3 separate regions of the Homo sapiens genome follow, and all the other regions are linked to region 3. Evidence: promoter capture Hi-C in human tissues and cell types (Jung and others, 2019). All regions are on one chromosome and are shown on one strand. The core of a region is centred on a gene start or on the middle of the fragment in contact, and the rest is flanking DNA. Distances in the headings are between cores, read along the strand shown. Region 1 overlaps PTER (phosphotriesterase related). Region 2 has its middle 48 kb from the start of C1QL3. Region 3 holds the start of C1QL3 (complement C1q like 3).

Region 1 (3,800 bases), core at 29-2,528, 39 kb before region 3:
TGCACCATTGGGTATAGCTGCTCTCATCGTTCCTTACCTTCTTCCTTGTTCTGTGAACTCTCTTCTCTATGGGGGAAGGCCATGAATAACCTCTTGCCTGTATGTTGAGAAGAGAGCAACCTCCAAGCTGAATGCAGAGGGAAAAGGGCTCCCTCCCTGCACAGGAAGCGTGTATTCTAGATACACACTCCACCCCACTCAAAGACATTCCAGCTTAGAGCAATGTTGGCTACAGTTTGTTCTTTAATCGTTTCTTATCCTTTGAGTGGAGGTTACATTGTGTGTGATCATAGGAAGTGCCAGCCAGTTCTGCCTGAGAGCATTAGAGGAATCTCCCAGAAGGGATGACATTTCTTAAGTGATTTTTTTTTCAGAAAGACTCACAGCTTGTGAGCTTGAAACGTACCAACATTGCTCTTTCAAATATGCATCAATTGAATATGCAGTTTGGTACTTTTCTAGCAAAAGTGGTAGCATTTTATCAATTTAGCTCAGTTTCTGCCCCTCTGTGACTCTCTGGAACACGTCTGTAAGATGGTCAGCCAGAAGGAAAGAAACGGCAAATTAACCCATATGGAAGCTTGCATCTATTATTAATGGTACTGTGATTTCATCAACGGAAGGCATGAACTACACACTCCTTGCTCTCAGTAGCAAGGAATAAGACACTGAACAGTAAATTCCTATCCATCATCATTGGAAAATATTGCCCTGTATAGTGCCTGGCAGCTGTGTGGTGATTCTCTGAAGAGACACTGCCTGCTTTTCTCTTAGCCACCATTTGAATTGCCTAGCTGATAGAAGTTTGGCTTCCAGAAAGGCACTATCAAACAAAATCAATGGCCATGTTAGCCACAAGTCCTAAGTTCTGTCCAAAAGTCTAAATCCATCATTTATGCCTTATAAGCCAATATATCGCAAACACCTGAGTTCCAGATAATTGCAGTGGCTTGCTATAAATTGGCCTACAATTCTGTCACCCTCTGACCTCTGATGTTGTTTTCACCTTGTCTTACGTGTGTACTATACCCTTCACAAATTTTCCCCTTTGTTCCCCCAAATCATCTCCCCTCTCATCAGCCACTTTCTCTGAAAAGAAATAATCTAGGATATACGTGAATAGTTCCTAGAATTCGCAAAACAAAGCTACTATTTGTTGAATATGGTCTGCGTGCCAAATGCATCTACAGGTATTTTTACCTGTGGTATCTAATTTATTTTTACGACAGTCTATGAAATGTGCTTCGTTATTTTAATTTACAGATGACAAAAATGGAAGTCAAAGAAGGCTTTCAAGGGATATGGGGGAAATGATGACTTCAGAACACTATTTGAAGGAACAGTTTGAGAGCTTGGAAACACGTGATGCTCCTTTTCTTCAGTTCCCAGAGTCTGGGACTCGAGTCCTGATTTTGCTCTTGGCCATGCAGGAGTTTGTCCTCACTATTTTCAGTAGCTCTTGTTCCTTTATAAACCCTTCATTTAGGAAATGTACTTAAAATTTTTTTTTTTGAGACATAATCTCGCTCTGTTTCCCAGGCTGGAGTGCAGTGGCGCGATCTCGGCTCACTGCAACCTCCGCCTCCTGGGTTCAAGCAATTCTTCTGCCTCAGCCTCCCAAGTAGCTAGGATTACAGGCACGCTCCACCACACTTGGCAAATTTTTGTATTTTTAGTAGAGACGGGTTTTCACCATGTTGGCCAGGCTGGTCTCAAACTCCTGGCCTTATGTGATCTTCCCACCTCAGCCTCCCAAAAGTGCTGGGATTATAGGCATGAGCCACTGCACCTGGCCATTTAATTTTTAATTTAAACAAATTTTTTAAAAGGAAATGTACTTTTAAAGGAAAGTACTGGAATTGGAGTTCTTGGTATCACTGATAGACATTGGTGAACACTTAATTTGTGCTACAAATGAAAGCAAATCGAGGATAGAGAGGGCTTTGCTCTTTTTAGAGATAGCCGATTTCAGTTTCAATAAATCACAATCGCTTTCATTATGGCTAAGAATCTTTGCTTTTCAGTATTTTTGAAGTGTGTTTCTGTGTGCCCTAGACAATCAAGCATTCAACCTGAAGAGGTTCGTTTCTTGTTGTTATTTCATTATTCAACCGAGTGTGCTCCTCAGTTGTTTTGGGGAGGGGCATATTCTATGAAGTCGTGTGAGTCAGAGATCTTGTCTTTTGTTTCTTTATGGCTCTAATTTCTGACACATCATGGACCTTCAACAGAAATTTGTTTGCTTGGGTAGTGGAGGAACAGTAGAAAGATCAGTTGTGGCCACGAGTGATGGTTCACACCTGTAATCCAGGCACTTTGGGAGGCCGAGGCAGGCAGATCACCTGAGGTCAGGAGTTCAAGACCAGCCTGGCCAACATAGGGAAACCCCATCTCCTAAAAATGCAAAAATTAGCCAGGCTTGGTGACACATGCGTGTAGTCCCAGCTACTCAGGAGGCTGGGGCAGGAAAATCCCTTGAACCCAGGAGGCGGAGGCGGAAGTTGCAGTGAGCTGAGATCGTACCACTGCACTCTAACCTGGGCAACAGAGCAAGACTCTCCCTCAAAAAGAAAAAAAAGGAGGAAAGATCAGTTGCTTCAGGATATTTAATTTAGCTAAAAAGTGACAAATGAAACAGTACTGATACATGGTTAGTTTGGATGTAAGTTATTGATTCTGAATACTTTTTTTTAATTACAATTACTGTTGATTTATCCAAGAATGCATAGCTATGATTAAGAGATACAATTAAGTTAAAGAAAAGTGAACTGAATATCAAAGAATATTTCCAGTAGATAAGGTTAGGACTAACTCAGGCAGAGGACTCCCAGTAGAAGGGGTGGGAGGCAATTAACACCACGCACGTCACTTAGATCTGCAGTGGGGATAGATTCTGAAGTCGGCAGGATTGTGAGATCGTATCTCTAGTTTTATTGATTTGCCTTCTTACATGGGTATATGTTCACAGCCTCCCACCCCTTACGGACAAGAGTTTATGTGTGTGTTAAATATTCTGATTGTAGTTGTTTGTTTGTTTGTTTGTTTTTAGAAAAAAGAAATCCTCTTTTTAGAACATCTCTTGGTGGTACCATCAGAAATGTCTTCCTTAAGTGGAAAAGTCCAAACCGTTTTGGGCCTTGTAGAGCCAAGCAAACTGGGCCGTACCCTGACCCATGAACACCTGGCCATGACCTTTGACTGCTGTTACTGTCCACCTCCCCCGTGCCAGGAAGCTATTTCCAAAGAACCTATCGTGATGAAAAATTTATATTGGATTCAGAAAAACGCCTATTCCCATAAAGAAAACCTTCAATTAAATCAGGAGACAGAAGCCATAAAGGAAGAACTGTTGTATTTTAAAGCTAATGGTGGAGGGGCTTTGGTGGAAAACACAACCACTGGGATTAGCCGAGACACACAGACGTTGAAGAGGCTTGCAGAAGAGACTGGCGTCCATATCATATCTGGAGCCGGGTTTTATGTGGATGCAACTCACTCCTCAGAGACCAGGGCCATGTCAGTGGAGCAGGTAAAAAGCCTAAGTTCTTTGACAGTATTTGTTCATAAATTCAGAACAGCCAGAACCTTGGAAATGCCCTGGGTTCAGAGGTAGCTGGGCATGCTACGGAAATTTGCTAGCTAGCAAAGACATCTGCCAGTTGGGGCCCCAGTTAGTAACACTGTATTTCATAAAGAAAGTGCCAATTTTGCAAGCAAGCCTTGTGGTAAAGAAAAAAGAAAATAATAATAATAAGTGTCAAGGAAAGAGATCTTAGTGCACTGGTCATTGCAAAATCCAA
Region 2 (3,408 bases), core at 747-3,246, 48 kb after region 3:
TTTTTTGCTCTCGTCGCCCAGGCTGGAGTGCAGTGATGTGATCTTGGCTCACTGCAACCTCTGCCTCCCAGGTTCAAGCGATTCTCCTGCCTCAGCCTCCCGAGTAGCTGGGATTACAGGTGCATGCCACCGCACCTGGCTAACTTTTTTGTATTTTTAGCAGAGATGGGGTTTCACCATGTTGGTCAGACTGGCCTTGAACTCCTGACCTCAGATGATCCACCCACTTTGGAGTGGAACCCTATTGTGAACTGTGCATGCCCAGGATCTAGGTTGTATGCTCTGTATGAGACTCTAACGCCTGATGATCTGAGGTAGAACAGTTTCATCCCAGAAACATCCCACGCCACCCACAGTCTGTGGAAAAAGTGTCTTCCACAAAATGAATCCCTGGTACAAAAAAGATTGGGGACTGCCGCCCTACAATACTCTTCCTAGATGCTTACCCAAGAGAAATAAATATGTCCACAACAAAGGTTTATTTATGAATAGATAAAGCAGCTTCACTGATAATGGCCCCAAACTGGAAACAAAAATGGCTGTCATCAATTGAATGTCTACACATGTTACACTATGTTCTCACAAGCCGAAAAAAGAAAATGAACGGCTGATACAGGAAACGTGGGTGAATCTCAGAAGCATTGTGCTGAGTAAAGGAAGCAGACACAAAATTCTACACTCTTTAAGATTGATTGATATAAAACTCCAGAAAAGAGAAATCTAATCCAATTCATAGTGATATAAAATACGTTAGCATTTGCCTAGGGCTGAGGGGTAGAGGGTGTTGCCTGGGAAGGACCAAAAAGGAACTTTTGGGGTGATAAAATGTACCTTGATTGTGGTAATGGTTACACAGGTGTGCACATTTGTCAAAACTTACGGAAATGTATACTTAAATTGGGTGTATTATTTTATTGTATATAAAGTGTACCTCAATAAAACTGATTTAATTTTCTAAAAAAAATAAAAGCTTACATCAAGGGGTAGCAAGACTAAGAATCATTGCATCCTTAGGGCATTTTATTCCAAATTATATCAATTTGAGGAGGTGGAGAATTTTCTAGTAGGGGATCTTAAAGTCTGTTCTAATATTAACATACTTTCTATATTAATGTTACTATCAATCATATCTCAATCTATAAAGTGACAAAGATGCTAAGTAAATCAAGCTGCATACAAAGTCCCTCTAGTGACATCTTGACTATCCTTTATAATGTCATCTGCCTTCAAACAAATCAGATTTTGTCCTAAGAGGTACTATTCATAATATTGGTGCCATCGGTTTTACATTTATTGTGTGTACTGGCTAATAGCAAGGTTTTTTTAAGCTTAAGAGGCTCAAGTGACATTTGAAAAATATCTGAGATGAAGAATGTAGTAGATGAATAATTTCCTTAATCAGTGTAATTGCCAAGAAATTGATTATCACAGTTTATAACTGGTTCGTAGGAATATTTTTGAAGGCCTTGGACTACTGTCAAATTAAATGTGTTACCAATGATCATTTATATTATAAAAAAGAAGAGAATAATCAAAAGCTACTTTTTCATATCCCTTCTGCTCAAATTCCTTCCAATTACTGTCACTCATTCTTTTGTGGAATTTATTGCCATTACCTTTTCATGGCACACTTGAGCTCTGATGTACCCATAAGAGCAAGAATTGTTGCACAAATGCAAAATGCTCTGATTATAGCAGAATAACGTAGACTTTGCTTACGCAAGAATGACAACATTTCCTTGCTGCCTTAATCTTTGCAAAATATTCCTTGTCTGGTTCATCCTAGATGTGCAAGGCTTATAATTCTGTCAACTAACACCTGTGGAAAGGTCTCCTTTGGTTGTTTATTTCTTGTTTTTTGTTTTGTTTTGTTTTTGAGATGGAGTCTCACTCTACGGCCCAGGTTGTGGAGCAGTGGTGCAATCTCAGCTCACTGAAACCTCTGCCTCCCAGCAATTCTCTGACTCAGCCTCCTGAGTAGCTGGGATTACAGGCACCTGCCACCATGCCCGGCTAATTTTTATATTTTGAGTAGAGACGGGGTTTCACCATGTTGGCCAGGCTGGTCTTGAACTCCTGACCTTGTGATCCACCCAGCTCGGCCTCCCAAAGTGCTGGGATTACAGGCGTGATCCACCATGCCTGGCCTCCTTTGCTCTTAAGGTAAATCTAGTTGCAGGGGAATCTAGGCATCTCACTTTCCACTTTGTTTTTATTTGTCATTATTAGGGAAACTAAATGATAAGGATGATTTAAAAGTCTTCTAGAGTTACCAATGCCAATTGCCTGACTGATGTGGACAGTGGGATTTTTTGGTCTGACATCTACCTTCTGGCATCTCATTTTGGATCATCTTCAGTAATAGGTTTCATTCTTGCTTGAGCCATACCCGTTGCACCCTTAGAAGGAAACCACCCAACAAGCGTCTATTGCATGCTAGGCACTGTAGAACGAGTTTTAATTCTCCAAACCTCCCTACAAGGTAGCAATTATTGTTGTCATTTCCATTTTTGCAGAAAAGAAAACTGAAACTAAGAGAGGTCACGTCATTTCCCCAAGGACACACAGCTAATGATTAAAAGAGGTAGGAGTCAAATGTAATCTGTCTGACTTCACAGTCACCAAGGTATACTACTTTTCTTATTGCAAACCTTGGTGCCTACTTATGCAGACATCAAAGACAGTCCAACTCTGTTCAATGGAAGAGAGATTTTGCACAGAGAATAAGGATAGACTCAACCCAAAACTAAAAGTCAATCTGGTAGAGAGTAGAAAGATAGTTACCAGAGGCTGGGAAGGGTAGCATGGGGTAGGGAGAAGTGGGGATGGTTAACAGCTACAAATAAACCCTGAAGTAATTAATAATACCTAGTATTTGATAGCACAGCAGGGAGACTATAGTCAAAATAATTTAATTGTGCATTTAAAAATAACTAAGAGTGTAATTGGATTATTTATAACACAAAGGATAAATGTTTGTGGGGATGGGAACCCCATCTTCCATGGTGTGATTATTAAACATTGCATGCCTGGATCAAAAGATCTCATGTACCCCATAAATATATACACCTATGTACTCACCATTTTTTTAAAAAGTCAACTTGGTATATAATTTTGACCTTATACTGCAAGCAAATTAAAATAAGAATAGTAGTTACACATGTGAATCCTTTACTAAAACTCTACTAATTTTCAACAAGTTTGATCCAAATAAATTCATTTTTAAGAGCTAATCAGAAAATATTTGGAGGGCAGATAGATAGTATCTGTATCTATTAAATGTGTAGATTTACACATTTACACAGTAGATTACAGACCACTAGGCACCTGTAATCCCAGCTGCTCAGGAGGCTGAGGCAGGAGAATCGCTTGAACCCAGGAGGCGGTGGTTTTAGTGAAGCGAGATCG
Region 3 (3,499 bases), core at 464-2,963:
CCAGCGCACGAGCTGTCCCCGGGACCCAGCTCCCGGCTTCCCGCCCCTCGAGGGTCGCGCTCGCAGGGGCGCGCACCGATCGAGGGTCCCAGACTCCGGAACTGCCCTCTCCAGGCCGCGGGGCGCCCTCCTGCGCGCACGACCCCCGCCTCTCCAGGGTGGGACGGCGTCCCCCCTTGCCGTCGCTCCAGGGAGCCCGGCCGCCGCGCCCTTCCTCCGCGGGCTCCCACCCCCATTTCCGGGGTCTCCTCCCTCTCGCCCGCACCTTCCCGCGCTCCCTCCCCGCCCTCCCCGCCGCCCGCCCGCGCTCACCTGGTTGTTTTTGCAGAGATCAGCCCACATGCTGGTGCCGTCCCCTCCGCGCATCAGGACGTGGTAGGTGAAGAAGTAGATGCCCGGGATGGAGCAGGTGAACTTGCCGGTGGTGGGGTCGTAGTGGTTTCCGAGGTTGGTGACCACGTCGTCGAACTTGAGCACCTCGTAGCCTTCATGCTGCCGCTTGAGGCCGGCGTAGAAGGCGATCTTGGGCACCGTGCTGTAGGTGGCGGCGCTGATGGCCCCGGCCGCGTTCAGGCCGGGCGCCCCGGGCGGGCCCGGCAGGCCTTGGCGGCCCGGCTCGCCCTTCTCGCCCGGGGGCCCCATGGGGCCGGGTGGCCCGGGCTCTCCGGGGGGCCCGCGCGGACCCGCCTTCCCGGGCCTGCCGGCCTCGCCTTTGGGGCCCTGGATGAAGGTGGGCAGGGACTGCATGAGGCCGCGGTCGGGCGTGGCAGCGGTGCTGGGCGCCTTGGTGCCCCCGTAGGGGTCGCAGACCATGCGGCAGGTGCCCAGCATCTCGTAGTGCGCCGACGTGCCGGCCGAGCTCACCAGCACCGGGATGAGGATCACCAGCAGCAGCACCATCACCACCCCCAGCGCCCCGGCGGCGATCAGGCGCCTCCTGCTGCCCACCAGCCGGCTCAGCGCGGGGCGATCCTCTTGTCTGCTTTTGGACAGAATTTTGAAGGTTGGGCGGGGACCTCTTCAGAGCCGAAAACAACCCCCTGCGAACCCCAACTCCCCTGGGCGTGCGTGCGCCGGCCGCTGCTGCCGACTCCTGCTCCCCCCGCGGAGGCTGCGGCTGGGGAGGGAGCGCGGGCGCCCAGTGACTTGAGCCGAAGTCCCGAGCCCGGGGTGGGGGCCGGGGGAGGGGTGCGCGGGGCGCCCTCGCCCCCCGCGAGCTCCTTCGCACCTGTGGCTGCAGCCGGCGCCGGCGCGGCCACCGGGAGGGCAGAGCCAGCCGCCGCCTCCTGAGCTCGCCCGGGCAGCTCACACTTTTATGCCGCCGCCGCCTGCGATCGACTTTTCCGTTTTTGCAGACTGCGCCTGTTCGCACCAACTTTCCGTCTGAAGTTGCCTTTTTCTGCCTCCTCCTCCTCTTCTTTCGCTCGCTCAGTTCGCCCGTCCGCTGCCTTTTTTTTTTATTGCCTCCTTTCTCTCTTCCTCCTTTGCCACCACCACAACTCGAATAGACGCGCACCCCAAAGCCCCGCGTGGGCCCGGGCGTCCCCCGGGTGCGCCCAGCGGCGGCGGCGGCGGGCACGGTCGGCACGGCGAGGCTCAGAGCTGGGGCGGAGGAGCGAGCGAGCAGCGGCGAGCGCCTCACGGCCGGGAGCGGAGCGAGAGAGAGACTGAAGGCAGAATTCTGCCTGGGTACCACCTGCCAGGAGAAGAGGAGGCTGACAAACGCGCGCCGGAGCAATTTATAGGCACCCAAGGCACAGAGGAAGGGGAGCCGCTTTGGCATCTCATTGCAGCATCTGCTCTGCTCATCCCACTCAGAGAGAGTTTGGCATTACTCTGACAATGTGGGATTTTTTTTTTTTTTTCGGCCTCTCTTTTTTTCTCTCTCTGCACATGGATGAACAGTGAGATTCTGAATACTCCCTTGCTGAACCAAGCGATGGCAGGTCCTGCTGGACCCACCTGGGGAAGGGAGACAGCTGTGCGACAGCTTTCAGAGCTCAAGGGTCACACCTAAATCCCCGATTTCCCCACTGCCAGCAGCCCCAGTTGGAGGGTGGAGGTGAAGGTTGAAAGGAGGGTGGCTGAGTTGACAGTTTCTTTGCTAGCTCCTCTACAATCAGTGCTTCAGGTGTTTTCAAAATGCCACTGTTAACAGAAGGAGGGCCTTTTAGAATTTTCCAGATGGTAGATGTGATTTTCTTTTAACCTGATGGTTTTCCTCCTCTGCCTTGTAAATGAATAAGATGTTGCCCCAAGAACAGTGAGGTATGTTGAAAAGCCAAAGAACATTTGTGAATGATTTTAAATGAACATGTCCACCGCCTCTGGGGGAGGAGGGGGTTGGTCCTTTTTACAAATGCTGCACCGTGGTGAGTGCATACATACGTACTGTGCTTACAGTCTTACAGTTCTAGCAGTCTTTCGGGGGATACCGCCAATGGCCCTGAAGTTGCGTTTACTTAAAGTCGCTAAATGTACAAGAAATAACCACTTGTCAAAATGGCGTCAAAAGATCAAGCAAGAAGCTTTTGCACAAGTGCTGGGCAAGGTCTTTTCCTAGCATATGGAAAGAGTTCTATAAGCTCCATAGCAGATTTCCCGAATATACATTGAGGGAGGGGAGAAGTAGGAGAAATACAAGAAAGAAGAGCCCCCATTCTCAGTGGGTGAGCTGCAGAAGGAACAGCATGGTTTATCATATTACTGGAAGGCCTCCAGGGTAGATATCAGGCAAGTTACCCCACCAACAAATACATAAGACACACAAGAATGGCTTTAAATAAATAAGTAGAATTGAATCCTAAATCATACTTTTGCATTCAGGAGCAACAGATGTCAATCAAACGTGGGTGACATTTGCTTGTCAATACGAGGATGATGGCTGGGAAGACGGTGACTTATTACATCAGGGTGAGAATCTGAAATGAGAAAAGCAGGAACAAATAAGACTACAGCAAGCAAACAGTAACATCCTGGGTGACGATCAGCAGCCTGTGATCTTGTCTGCGGGTGTCACAGCATGGACTTCTCCTTTCCTCCCTGTGCCTCAATCTCCCCGCCCCCCAGCCTACTCCAGTCCACCCCACCAATTTAGTTCTTTCTTTCTTTCTTTCTTCTCTGTTTCAAAACAAAATAAGGTCAAACGAGCAGACAGAAGGAAACAAAGACTGAATGATTCTTTTAAGAGAAATGTCAGTAGCTCCTTCAGGCCTTGGCTGGGAGAATCAACCCTAAAAGCTGTGCTGTGTGGCTCAGCGGGGTGGGGGTCTCCACCTCCTGGCTACTGAGAGAGCCACACTGCTCCTGGTATTGGAAAATAGGGCTTCCCACTTCTCAAGCCCTTAACTTTTATTTTAGGGTAGTGGTTTTATAAATGCGCGCCTATTGCTTGGGCATAATTATACACATAGTTCCATAATATTTTTGTTCACATGAGCTGCCTTATTTTCATATTTTTAAGGAGCAAACACATAATAAGTTGTCTCCTGGCCATAAT

Evidence for each region. The method cuts DNA at HindIII sites, captures the fragments that hold promoters and counts their contacts. A contact is called where the count stands out against the background at its distance.
Region 1: a fragment that was not itself captured here is called in contact with the fragment with the promoter of C1QL3 in region 3 in 2 of the 25 tissues and cell types used here (ovary and thymus).
Region 2: a contact is called between a fragment that was not itself captured here and the fragment with the promoter of C1QL3 in region 3, in 4 of the 25 tissues and cell types used here (dorsolateral prefrontal cortex, mesendoderm cells, ovary and 1 more).

What each region holds. Positions count from the first base shown.
Region 1 is chr10:16,481,288-16,485,087 of GRCh38, forward strand. It overlaps PTER (phosphotriesterase related), which reads left to right. Exons shown (of 5, transcript NM_001261836.2): 2 at 3,050-3,529. The coding sequence starts at 3,098. Among named protein-coding and RNA genes, the nearest start is that of C1QL3, 39 kb to the right of the region's middle. The HindIII fragment of the contact is 6,546 bases long and covers 1-3,800 here.
Region 2 is chr10:16,568,375-16,571,782 of GRCh38, forward strand. No RefSeq gene overlaps it. Among named protein-coding and RNA genes, the nearest start is that of C1QL3, 48 kb to the left of the region's middle. RefSeq lists an enhancer at 2,428-2,657. The HindIII fragment of the contact is 6,458 bases long and covers 1-3,408 here.
Region 3 is chr10:16,520,166-16,523,664 of GRCh38, forward strand. C1QL3 (complement C1q like 3) reads right to left here and starts at 1,714. Exons shown (of 2, transcript NM_001010908.2): 1 at 313-1,714. The coding sequence starts at 900. RefSeq lists an enhancer at 1-265 and silencers at 565-624, 935-1,154, 1,425-1,654. The HindIII fragment of the contact is 8,174 bases long and covers 1-3,499 here.